Regions from separate parts of the Homo sapiens genome. Here regions 1 and 3 are each linked to region 2. Evidence: promoter capture Hi-C in human tissues and cell types (Jung and others, 2019). All regions are on one chromosome and are shown on one strand. The core of a region is centred on a gene start or on the middle of the fragment in contact, and the rest is flanking DNA. Distances in the headings are between cores, read along the strand shown.

Region 1 (4,377 bases), core at 1-2,500, 260 kb before region 2:
AATACCTTCTGTCCCTGCTCCATGGGAGGGGCAGCCCTCACCTGCTGGTCCTGCTCCCACACACTGGATCTGGGGATCTGAGCCGCCTCTTCTTCAGACATCGTGCTGCAAACAGGGTCACCCTGCGGGGCAGGATTGAGTAAGGGGAGCACCTGCCCAGGCATCAGATCCTGTCAAATTGGGCTCTGTGACTTGAGCAACTCTCAAACCTCTTGGGGCCTCAGTTTCTTCATCTGCATAATGGGGCATTCTGTGGAGCTCAGACAATGCATGTCCAGAGCTCTGTACACAGAGGGTGTCCAATAATGAGCCTCTGGCAAGGTAGGGTTGCCGGAGTGACTCGAAGCATGGTCTCTGAGGTGAGAAAGACCTGGGTTCAAATGCTACCATTAATTGCGGTGTTATTTTTATTATTTTTTTAAAGACAGAATCTCTCTCGCCCAGGCTGGAGAGCAGTGGCGCCATCCCAGCTCACTGCAATTTCCGCCTCCCAGGTTCAAGTGATTCTCCTGCTTCAGCCTCCCAGTTAGCTGGGATTACCCACGTGCCACCATGCTCGGCTAATTTTTGTATTTTTAGTAGAAACCGGGTTTCGCCATGTTGCCCAGGCTGGTCTCAAACTCCTGGGCTCAAGTGATCTGCCCACCTCGGCCTCCCAAAGTGCTGGGATTACAGGCATGAGACACTGCACCTGGCCAGCTGTGTGATTTTTGGCAAGCACCTTCACCTCTCTGGGCTGCTTCCTGTTTTGTAAGATGTGGGAGGTCCCTGCTACCCCTGCGGCCCCTGCCTGGGCCCAGAACTGCCCAAGCACCCTAGACGGCTGGAGGTGGTAGCTGCTGGGTCCCAGTCCACTCACAGCTCATTTGACAGACAGGGCAACTGAGGTACGCAGCAGGTCCATGCTGGTCCCAAGGTCACGCAGCCAGCTAGAGTTACAGGGGGGGAGCTCGACCTCGGGCCTCAGACCTGCCGCCTGCGATCCCTCCGGTTGCCACCCCGCGTCCTCTGAGGCCTGGTCCTCGCCCAACTGGGTCCTGAGCTGGGGCCAACCGGGCCAAGGGTCCCAGCCACCTGCTCTGGCCGGTCATACCCGTCCCACGCCGCCGGACCTTCGCCCAACCACCCTATCTGGAGCTCCTCTCCTAAGCCCGGGGGGGCGCTCCCGGACGCCGCCCTCAGGGCACTCACCTGGGCGCGAGCGGCTTCAGACACCAGCTGTCTCCGCCGACCCCAGGCTCGAGTCTCCACACCCCCGCCGGTCCCGCCCGCCCTTCTTATAGCTGCTCGCGCAGTGGGGGCCTCCGGAACTGACCAATGGGGAGAGGCCGTGCGGGGGCGTGCCCAGGGGGCGTGGCTCCAGGCTTCCCTCGCCCTCTCCTTGAGCTGGCCCAGTGCCCTACGGTTGCCATAGTAATTCGGGAGCGCTAGATTCAAAAGATTGAGCTATTATACGTTCCCGGACCAAGTTTGGCCACCTGTCATCCTCACTGCTGTTGCCATAGAGACAGTCCATGCGATCACAGCCCCCATAGCCCTGCTGAGTGACCTTGGCCAACTCGCTGATGACTTTTCTTATTAATTATTATTATTTATCGATTTTTGAGACTGGGTCTTGCTCGGTTGCCCAGGGCTAGAGTGCAGTGGTGTGATCATAGCTCACTGCAGCCTTGCCCTCCCAGGCTGAGGTGATCCTCCCGCCTCAGTCTCCTAAGTAGCTGGGACCACAGGCACACACCACCACCCCCAGCTAACTTTTTAAACTTTTTGTAGAGACGAGATGTCCCTGTGTTGACCAGGCTTGTCTTCAACCCCTGAGCCCCAAGTGATCCTTCCACCTCAGCCTTCCAAATTGCTGGGATTACAGGTGTGAGCCATTGCACCCAGCCTCTTTTTATTTCTTAATCTGCCCCTTAACTAAGCCAGAAGCCAGGCCTTCCCTTTCCCTAGGATCCCCATTTCACAGATGAGCAAGCTGAGGCTCAGAGATCATAAAACACTTGCCCCGCATACCACAGCAAGTGAGGGATCCTATTCCTTTTTTTTCTTTTTTTTTTTTTGAGACAGAGTCTGACTCTGTCGCCCAGGCTGGAGTGCAGTGGCGCGATCTTGACACACTGCAACCTCCGCCCCCTGGGTTCAAGTGATTCTCCTGCCTCGGCCTCCGGAGTAGCTGGGATTACAGGCGCCTGCCACCACACCTAGCTAATTTTTGTATTTTTAGTAGAGACGGGGTGTCACCATATTCGTCAGGCTGGTCTTGGACTCCTGACCTCGTGATTTGCCTGCCTTGGCCTCCCAAAGTACTAGGATTACAGGCATGAGCCACCGTGCCCGGCCAGGGATCCTATTCAAACCCAGCCCTGCTGGACCTCAGAACCCTGCCTTTTCATTGCCTTGCCTGGAATGACCACAGATGTAGGCATGGTCTTTTTATTTTTATTTTTATTTTTGAGACACAGTTTCACTCTGTCGCCCAGCCTGGAGTGCAGTGGCGTGATCTTGGCTCACTGCAACCTCCGCCTCCCAGGTTCAAGTGATTCTCCTGCCTGACCCTCCCAAGTAGCTGGTATTACAGGCACGTGCCACTGTGCCTGGCTAATTTTTGTATTTTTAGTAGAGACAGGGTTTTGCCATGTTGGCCAGTCTGGTCTCGAACTCCTGACCTCCGGTGATCTGCCTGCCTCAGCCTCCCAAAGTGTTTGGATTACAGGCATGAGCCACGGCGCCAGGCTGCATGGTCATTTTTTAGGGAGCTGGGAAAACTGGACATGCCCCCAAGCCCCAGGGTCTTCCAAATCCGATTGCAGCCCCCACATGGCCAATGCTGTATCAGCAGGTGGGCCCGGGACCCTGCTCATCCCTTCAGCCCCATCCTGCCCCTGCAACCTTGCCCGGGGGCAGGTGCCCCCTTCGATGATCTCAGGTCAGCATGACAAATCGTTTGGAGACCTGGGCAATCTGGTTTAACTTAAACCTTCTCCTAGGACACAAGCCCTGGCAGAAATCCACTGGTAAAATGACACCCGGGCAACAGTCAAGGTTTTATTTCCAGTTAGGTCCCAGGATGGGGGAAGGGAGAGGAGAAGTCACAGGCCATTGATCCCAACTGTCATCCCCTAGGGAGACCATATCCCACACCCCAGGGCCTGGGCCATGCCTCTTTTCCTCCTTCACCCTGGAGTCCTGGGAAGTTGATTTGAGAAGATGCTAGGAACACAATGAAAGCCAATTCATCCGATCCAGTTTTCAAGGGTTATTTATTAAACCCCTTGGTTCTGACCCCAAGCTAAGTGGGACTCAGCATCAGACCCTGCACTCAGAGAGCCCCCTGACTTGGGGAAGACAGAGTCAGAGAAAGGCAGCCCCAGTGTGGCCAGGGCTCAGCTGGAAGGAAGGACAAGGGGCTGGGAGAACCCAGAGTTCAAGAGATCTGGGAAACAGGGAACGGCATTCCAGACGGAGGGCACACCTTGGGCATGGGTAAGGAAAGCCCATCGTGTGTTCTAGGAAGCATGGATGGATGAAACGGGGTCCCAGCCGCTATGGACAGCCCCGAGTTTCACCTGTAAAAGGCAGGATTATTTGTTTTTAATTTTAATTTTAATTTTTTTGAGACAGTCTTGCTCTGTCGCCCAGGCTAGAGTGCAGTGGCACGATCTTGGCTCACCGCAAGCTCCGCCTCCCAAGTTCACGCCATTCTCCTGCCTCAGCCTCCCGAGTTGCTGGGACTACAGGTGCCCACCACCACGCCTGGCTAATTTTTTATATTTTTAGTAGAGACAGGGTTTCACCATGTTAGCCAAGATGGTCTCGATCTCCTGACCTCGTGATCCGCCCACCTGGGCCTCCCAAAGTGCTGGGATTACAGGCGTGAGCCCCCGCACCCGGCCAAAGGCAGGATTATTTGTTAAGCGGGTTGCAGTGTTCTACCAGACCCCCCACCCTCAACCCAAGCCCCTGGTCTCACTGGGACTTGGCCACTGCCAGGAGCGTCTGGCCCTTCACGGCTTCAGGCCCAGCACAGCGCGTGTCATTCTGGGAAAACATCTTGTCTTTTTGGGCCTGAAGCCAACGATAGAGGTCGCTCAGGTTCTGGTCACAGATCCAGGGGTTGCCGGAGATGTCGAAGCCATCCCGCATGTCCCAGTTTGGCTGCCCTAGGGATGCCCAGAGCCCCTCGGGCACGCTGGCCAGTGAGTTATTGGAGAGGTCCAGCATGTCCAGCTGCCGCAGGCCCTGGAAGGCACCGGCTGCCACCCTGGCCAGCTTGTTGCCGTTCAGGAAGAGGTAGCGCAGGTCCGGCTGCGGCAAGAGGAGATCTTTTCCCAGTACTTGCAATTTGTTGCCTTCTAGATGTAGCCGTTCTAATTGCAG
Region 2 (4,091 bases), core at 608-3,107:
ACCGTGTTAGCCAGGATGGTCTCGATCTCCTGACCTCGTGATCCACCCATCTCGACCTCCCAAAGTGCTGGGATTACAGGCGTGAGACACCGCGCCCGGCCGGCATGAGATAACAATTCTGAATGAAGACGCTGTTGAACATCTTGGTTGTGATACTGGCTACATAGCTGCATGTTTGTCACACCTGTTCTCTTTATTTATTTTTATTTATTTATCTTAGAGACAGGGTCTCCCTCTGTCACCCAGGCTGAAGTACAATGGTGCAATCACGGCTCACTGCAGCCTTGACCTCCTAGGTTCAAGCGATCCTCCCACTTCAGCCTCCCGAGTAGCTGAGACAACAGGTGCACGCTACCACGCCCGGCTAATTTTTCTATTTTTGTAGAGATGTGCTATGTTTCCCAGGCTGGTCTCGAATTCCTGGGTTCAAGCAATCCTCCCACCTCAGCCTCCCAAAGTGCTGAGATTACAGGTGTGAGTCACCTTGCCCGGCCAAACCTGTCCTCTTTATTAAAAATGCATTTTATTGTATATATATTACACCTCGAATAAACTTTAAAAATAAAGAATTCGGGTCACCAAAGATTTCTTTTTCATAATATAATTCATTGTTGTCAAAAAATGCCAGGGAATGGATCACCTTACAACTGCTAGAATAGCTATCATCAAAAAGACGAAAGGTAACAAACGTTGGCAAGGATTTGAAGAGAACACTTATACACTACTGATGGTAATTTTAATTAGTATAGCCATTATAGAAAATGGTATGGAAGTTCCAAAGAAAAATTTAAAAATAAAACTACCAGGTGATCCAGGAATCCCACTTCTGGGTCTTTATCCAAAGGAATTGAAGTCAGCACGTCAGGCCGGGCATAGTGGCTCACGCCTGTAATTCTAGCACTTTGGGAGGCTGAGGCGGGCGGATCTCCCAAGGTCAGGAGTTCGAGACCATCCTGGCCAACATGGCGAAACCCGTCTCTACCAAAAATACAAAAATTAGCCGGGCGTGGTGGTGGATGTCTGTAGTCCCAGCTACTCGGGAGGCTGAGGCACGAGAATCACTTGAACCCGGGAGGCAGAGGTTGCAGTGAGCCGAGATTGCGGCATTGCCCTCCAGCCTAGGCAACAAGAGCGAGACGCTGTCTCAAAAACAAAAACCAAAACCAAAAAACCCCACAAAGTTATTGAAAGAAATAAATAAAAATAAATACGTAAATAAAAGAAGGAAATTCTGACACATACTAGAATATACATAAATGTATGTAAATGAATAAATGAATATATGAATGTGAGAATAAGAAGTGAGCGCGTCATTTTTTACCGTTCTCCCAGCTCAAAACGTTTTCGCCCCGTCCAGCTTTTCGGCCTCCTCCGGGCGCCCCCTGCCGGTGGGCCGCTTGCCCGTGCTCCAAGCCCAAAACAGACGCGTCCCCTCTAGTCGCTTTTAGCCTTCGGTCTCGGTCCTGATTGGCTCAGAGTCGCTCGTGATCCCTTTTGGGAAATGTAGTCCTTAAGGGTATCGCGCCTGCTTTTTCTATACGCTCTGACGCAGAGATAGCCACGGGAAGTACGTCACCAAATTTCGCCGGTTCCCACAAGCTAGGTCGTGTGACGCTGCATGACGGGAATTGTAGTCCTCAAATTGCTAGCTTCCGATGCCATGCGCTGCGACTGGAACGCCAATTCCCACCATGCCGCGCGCTCACAGCTCTCAGGGGCTGTCCTGTGGCCTTTGGGGAAGTGTAGTCTTGAGCCCCCAAGATTCCTTTTCTGTTCTATGGAGTGGGCCCGCGCAAAGGACTCCATTTCCCGGCGTGCTGCCATCCGTCGGGTCGCGGCAGCCATTTTGTTCCGCCCGAGGAGACCCTAAGATGGCGGCGAGGGGGACGGTGAAGGTTGCCTCCCGCCCGTCCGGGCTCTGATCCTCCGTCTCCCCGTCCCCCGGCGGCCGGCCCATGGCCTGGCGGAGGCCCGAACCATGGACCTCCGCACCGCCGTGTACAACGCCGCCCGTGATGGCAAGCTGCAGCTGCTCCAGAAGCTGCTCAGCGGCCGGAGCCGGGAGGAACTGGACGAGCTGACGGGCGAGGTGGCCGGCGGGGGAACGCCGCTACTCATCGCCGCCCGCTACGGCCACCTGGACGTGGTGGAGTACCTGGTGGACCGGTGCGGCGCGAGCGTGGAGGCCGGTGGCTCGGTGCACTTCGATGGCGAGACCATCGAGGGCGCGCCGCCGCTGTGGGCCGCCTCCGCAGCCGGCCACCTGGACGTGGTGCGGAGCCTGCTGCGCCGCGGGGCCTCGGTGAACCGCACCACGCGCACCAACTCCACGCCTCTCCGCGCCGCCTGCTTCGACGGCCACCTGGAGGTGGTGCGCTACCTGGTCGGCGAGCACCAGGCCGACCTGGAGGTGGCCAACCGGCACGGCCACACGTGCCTCATGATCTCGTGCTACAAGGGCCACCGTGAGATCGCCCGCTACCTGCTGGAGCAGGGCGCCCAGGTGAACCGGCGCAGCGCCAAGGGCAACACGGCCCTGCATGACTGCGCCGAGTCCGGCAGCCTGGAGATCCTGCAGCTGCTGCTGGGGTGCAAGGCCCGCATGGAACGTGACGGCTACGGCATGACCCCGCTGCTCGCGGCCAGCGTGACGGGCCACACCAACATCGTGGAGTACCTCATCCAGGAGCAGCCCGGCCAGGAGCAGGTCGCAGGGGGAGAGGCTCAGCCTGGGCTGCCCCAAGAAGACCCCTCCACCAGCCAGGGGTGTGCGCAGCCTCAGGGGGCTCCGTGCTGCAGCTCCTCCCCAGAGGAACCACTGAACGGGGAATCTTACGAAAGCTGCTGTCCCACCAGCCGGGAAGCTGCCGTGGAAGCCTTGGAATTGCTGGGAGCTACGTATGTGGATAAGAAACGAGATCTGCTTGGGGCCCTTAAACACTGGAGGCGGGCCATGGAGCTGCGTCACCAGGGGGGCGAGTACCTGCCCAAACCGGAGCCCCCACAGCTGGTCCTGGCCTATGACTATTCCAGGGAGGTCAACACCACCGAGGAGCTGGAGGCGCTGATCACCGACCCGGATGAGATGCGCATGCAGGCCCTGTTGATCCGGGAGCGCATCCTCGGTCCCTCGCACCCGGACACTTCCTATTACATCCGTTACAGGGGTGCCGTGTACGCCGACTCGGGCAATTTCGAGCGCTGCATCCGCTTGTGGAAGTACGCCCTGGACATGCAACAGAGCAACCTGGAGCCTCTGAGCCCCATGACCGCCAGCAGCTTCCTCTCCTTCGCGGAACTCTTCTCCTACGTGCTTCAGGACCGGGCCGCCAAAGGCAGCCTGGGCACCCAGATCGGCTTTGCAGACCTCATGGGGGTTCTCACCAAAGGGGTCCGGGAAGTGGAACGGGCCCTGCAGCTGCCCAGGGAGCCCGGAGACTCAGCCCAGTTCACCAAGGCGCTGGCCATCATCCTCCACCTGCTCTACCTGCTGGAGAAAGTGGAGTGCACCCCCAGCCAGGAGCACCTGAAGCACCAGACCGTCTACCGCCTGCTCAAGTGCGCGCCCAGGGGCAAGAACGGCTTCACCCCTCTGCACATGGCTGTGGACAAGGACACCACAAACGTGGGCCGCTATCCCGTGGGCAGATTCCCCTCCCTGCACGTGGTCAAAGTGCTGCTCGACTGCGGGGCCGACCCGGACAGCAGGGATTTTGACAACAACACCCCGCTACACATAGCAGCCCAGAACAACTGCCCGGCCATCATGAATGCCCTGATCGAAGCAGGGGCCCACATGGACGCCACCAATGCCTTCAAGAAGACGGCCTACGAGCTGCTGGACGAGAAGCTGCTGGCCAGGGGTACCATGCAGCCCTTCAACTACGTGACCCTGCAGTGCCTTGCGGCCCGGGCCCTGGATAAGAACAAGATCCCTTACAAGGGCTTCATCCCGGAAGATCTGGAGGCGTTCATCGAACTGCACTGACCTGCCCAGAACGCCTGCACCCTCACCTCTCCCCTCTCCTGCTGAGATGGGGGAAATCCGGCTGCGGCATAGCAGATGCTCGTTCTTGCCTCCTTCAGGCACC
Region 3 (4,002 bases), core at 137-2,636, 350 kb after region 2:
AGTGTGTGGGGAGCCTGCTCCGAGCCCTGCTCATCCAGGGCTGTCTGGTCTCCACAGGAGTGCTGCCTGTGCAACCTGCGAGGAGGTGCGCTGCAGATGACCACCGATAGGAGGTGGGTGGCACCGCGCGTTGGGGCTGGAGGGCCGGAGGGGAGCCTGCCCTGGGCTGAGGCTCTGCAGGGTGTGACCCCAGTGCCTAGGGGTTGACCATCACCTCCACATAACCGCCCTGTGTCATGGATGGGGTGGCCAGGGCTGAGGAGGAGCATACGCCTGCACCGACCTTCCTGAAGTTCCCCAGGCCCTGACCCAGCCGACAGCCACATCACGCCCAGCCCCTCTGTGACCAGCCCAGGTCCTCAGAGGCGCACCTGACCCCGCTGCACCTGCCCTCCCAGGTGGATCCACGTGATCTGTGCCATCGCAGTCCCCGAGGCGCGCTTCCTGAACGTGATTGAGCGCCACCCTGTGGACATCAGCGCCATCCCCGAGCAGCGGTGGAAGCTGGTAGGTCCTTGCGGTCGAGGCCCACCCTGCCCGTGCCTCTAGGGCTGCCGGCCATGCTCGGCTCCCCACCTGCGCGATCTGAAGCGGTCTTTCCTCCAAGCTCTGCGTCTCCATGGGGGTGGTGGGCAGCTTTCAGGAAGCCAGTGATCCCGACTTCAGCAGGTGTGTTATTTTTTGAATCCTTCCCCGAGGTGCAAGGTACAAAAATCAGAAGGCATCAAGGGTGGCAGAGATAAGCAGGCCCCGTCAGGTGTGGCCTTGGGGGCATCCTCTGCAGAATCGAGCACCCCATGCAGTTTCCACCTTCCCACAAAAGCAGAGGCACCGCACGTGCCCCGACACAACCGGGCTGTCTGATCTTTGCTGTTTTTCTAATAATTATAACAAGCCTGGGCAACACGATGAGACCCCATCTCTATAAAAAAAATAAAAAACACTAGCTGGGCGTGGTGGCACACACCTGTGGTCCCAGCTACTCGGGAGGCTGAGGTGGGAGGATCGCCTGAGCCCGGGATACCCAGGCTGCAGTGAGCTGTGATGGCACCATTACACTGCAGCCTAGACAACAGAGCCAGGCACTGTCTCAAAAAAAAACAAACAATTGTAACAATGCTTAGCGTGAGATCTGCCCTCTTAAGAAGCATCTGAGGTTCAGTACAGCATTCACCACGGGCCCAGTGGTGGGCAGCAGGGCTCTGCGGCCCGCTCACCCGTCCTGTATAACTGACACTTCACACGTGCTAAGCAGCAGCTCCCTCCGCCCACCCCAGCACCCAGCACTCTGCTTCTGTGTGTTTGCCTGTGTTATAGACCCCACGTGAGTGGGATTGTACAGTCTTTATTCTTCTGCGACCGGCTTCTTTCTTAAGAGACAGGGTCTCTCACTCTGTTACCCAGGCTGGAGTGCAGTGGTGTGATCACAGCTCTCTGCAGCCTCAAACTCCTGGGCTCAAGCGATCATCCCGCCTCAGCCTCCTGAGTAGCTGGGACCACAAGCACGTGCCAAAAAGTTAGGTTAACTCCCAATTTTTTTTTAAAAGATGGGGTCTCACTATGTTGCCCAGGCTGGTTTGGAACTCCTGGCCTTGAGATCTTCCTGCCTTGGCCTCCTGGGTAGCTGGGATTACAGGCGCGAGTGGTGTCTTTCATTTGGCATAGTTTCCTCAAGGTTCATCCACATTCATTCAACCCAAATATGGCAGGAGTTCCTTCTTTTCCTGGCTCAGTGATGTGCCACCATGTGGATGGACGACGTTGTGTTGATCCGGGCACCCGCCGATGTCTCTGCCTTCAGGCTGTTGTGGGTTGCGCCGCAGCGGATGTGGGAGTGTGGTTGTGGTTTGGAGATTCTGATGTCATTTCCTGTGGATACAGACCCAGCAGTGGGCTTGCTGGACCGTCGGGCAGCTCTGTTTTTAGCACTGGAGGAAACTGCTCTCCCTTGCGGCTGGACGGACTCCCATCCGCACCCCCCGGGTGCAGGGCTTTCCCCTTCCCCTCGTCCTCACTCACACCTACCTTTGACTTTTTTGTAGCAGCCGCCCTAGCAGGTGCGAGGTGGTCTCGCTATGGTTTGATTTGTGTTCTCCTGGCGGTCAGTGACGCTGGGCATCTTTGCACAGTCCTGTTGGCCATCTGCATGCCGTCTTTGGAGAAACGTCTGTTCTGCTCCTTCGCCCATTCCGTGCCTGGGTTGCTTGGCCTTTTGTGGTTGAGTTGGAGGATCTCTGCTGCTCCACTCTTGGTGCACATTGAGGCCCCCCGTAGATGCGCGCAGCCACCTTGGGCGTAGCGGGGCCTCATCGTGGGGGCTTGTGAAGCTTCCTCCTGCTCTCAGCAATGATGGCCCCCCTTTGGGGAACCCCTTGGAGCCACAGGGCAGTCAGGAGTGGTCAGTGCTGGCCACCAGCTGGCTGTGCACTTGGGACAGATTCCTCGACCTCTCTGTGCCTCGGCCGTCCCTTCTGTGCTGTGGGGTTGCCACAGTCCCCGCCATGCAGGGTTGCAGTGGTGTGAGCTGGGCCCACTCCCTAAAGCATGGACCACCCTGTCTGAGCACTAGCAGCTGCTCAGGGCTTGTCAAATCTGCAGCCTCGCTCCCCCAGGCCCCCAGTGTCACCTACTGCATTTGATCCACACAGTGAGAGCCTGTGGGGTCATCCTGCACTGTCTGTTCTGCAGGTGAGGAGCCTGGGGCCTGGAGGGGCTTGGCCGATCATGGCCTGGGCTGCAGCCCTGCAGGGCTGTCTGCTGCACACCCTGTAGCCCACCTGCGCACAAGGCACTTGGGGCTGTCCACGCCTGCTGGAAAATGACACTCAGCTGGCCCTTTAAATCAGCTTCCTGCAGAGCCTTGGGACCTGGCCCAGAAAGAAGATGAGGAGGCCAGGCCTGGTGGCTCATGCCTGTAATCCCAGCACTTTGGGAGGCCGAGGCGGGTCGATCTCCTGAGGTCAGGAGTTCGAGACCAGCCTGGCCAACATATGAAACCCCGTCTCTACTGAAAATGCAAAACTTAGCTCTGCATGGCGGGACGTGCCTGTGATCCCAGCTACTCGGGAGACTAAGGCGGGAGAATTGCTTGAACCTGGGCGGCGGAGGTTGCAGTGAGCTGAGATTGCGCCACTGCACTCCAGCCTGGGCGACAGAGTAAGACTCTGTCTCAAAAAAAAAAAGATGAGGAGAGCAAAATGCAGATGTTGCTGGGGCCGCGTCCCCACTAAGGGCTGTGCATGTGGCAGCGCTGATGGGGAGGACGCATTTGTCCCTGTGCACTCCGGCCTCTGCACACGTGTCTCGTGGGCCCCTGGAGGCTGGGCCCGCAGCCAGTAGCACCCAGCAGCGTCCTGCCTGCTTTTCCTGCCTGGTTTATCTTCCCAGCCGCGGACACAGTGCCTGGTGTTGACATTCAGGCTTGCGTGGAGGTGGGGCTGGAAGCAGACAGATCAGTCTGGCAGGGTGGGTCTGCTGGGGAGACCACAAGGGTGGGACTGATGCCGGCCACAAAGCCCGGGCTCCCATGCACTGGTGCGAGGTGCCCACGAGCCCGGCGGGCTTGGATGCCATGCTTGGAGCCCACAGGTGCTGGGCCACCTGGGCAGGGCTGTGCAGGCAGTCACAGAGGCTCATCTGGAAGGGGAGCCCTCTTTCCTTGTTCGTGGAGTGGAGTGTGCAGTGGGTCACGCCGGCCTGGCCGGGCACGGCCAGGCGATTAGGAAGCCGGCAGCCCGCGGGTGATGCTTCCGAGGCACCAGTGACTCAGTCCACAAACGTGGGCGTAAAAGGCCTCATGATTCAGGTGGAGTGATGGTGCGATGCGTGGTGCAGTGATAAGTCCTCCTGCCCGACGCCTTATGGATCATCTGACATTTCCAGAACGCAGCCTCTTCATTACCGGTGCTTGTAACGATGAATTAAAAATCCTTTTACACGAGGCCCGCTTGTACTGCTTAATGGGGCTTTGCAAGGAGGCGGCGGTTAATTCCTGCTCGCCCA

Evidence for each region. Contacts are between HindIII fragments. The study calls those that stand out against the background at their distance.
Region 1: the fragment with the promoter of PLIN5 here is called in contact with the fragment with the promoter of FEM1A in region 2 in 4 of the 25 tissues and cell types used here (lymphoblastoid cells, mesenchymal stem cells, spleen and 1 more).
Region 3: a contact is called between a fragment that was not itself captured here and the fragment with the promoter of FEM1A in region 2, in 1 of the 25 tissues and cell types used here (lymphoblastoid cells).

What each region holds. Positions count from the first base shown.
Region 1 is chr19:4,533,974-4,538,350 of GRCh38, forward strand. PLIN5 (perilipin 5) reads right to left here and starts at 1,251. Exons shown (of 8, transcript NM_001013706.3): 1 at 1,192-1,251; 2 at 42-122. The coding sequence starts at 101. It overlaps LRG1 (leucine rich alpha-2-glycoprotein 1), which reads right to left. Exons shown (of 2, transcript NM_052972.3): 2 at 2,429-4,377. The coding sequence ends at 3,967. RefSeq lists an enhancer at 402-957. The HindIII fragment of the contact is 58,476 bases long and covers 1-4,377 here.
Region 2 is chr19:4,789,877-4,793,967 of GRCh38, forward strand. FEM1A (fem-1 homolog A) reads left to right here and starts at 1,858. Exons shown (of 1, transcript NM_018708.3): 1 at 1,858-4,091. The coding sequence starts at 1,979. The coding sequence ends at 3,988. LOC124904620 (a long non-coding RNA gene) reads right to left here and starts at 1,416. Exons shown (of 2, transcript XR_007067103.1): 1 at 1,322-1,416. RefSeq lists enhancers at 1,511-2,168, 1,679-1,948, 2,169-2,825, 2,479-2,538, 2,826-3,482. The HindIII fragment of the contact is 32,697 bases long and covers 1-4,091 here.
Region 3 is chr19:5,137,564-5,141,565 of GRCh38, forward strand. KDM4B (lysine demethylase 4B) reads left to right here. Exons shown (of 23, transcript NM_015015.3): 17 at 58-113; 18 at 399-507. Among named protein-coding and RNA genes, the nearest start is that of PTPRS-AS1, 38 kb to the right of the region's middle. RefSeq lists enhancers at 1-180, 181-680, 1,703-1,802. The HindIII fragment of the contact is 3,759 bases long and covers 1-3,266 here.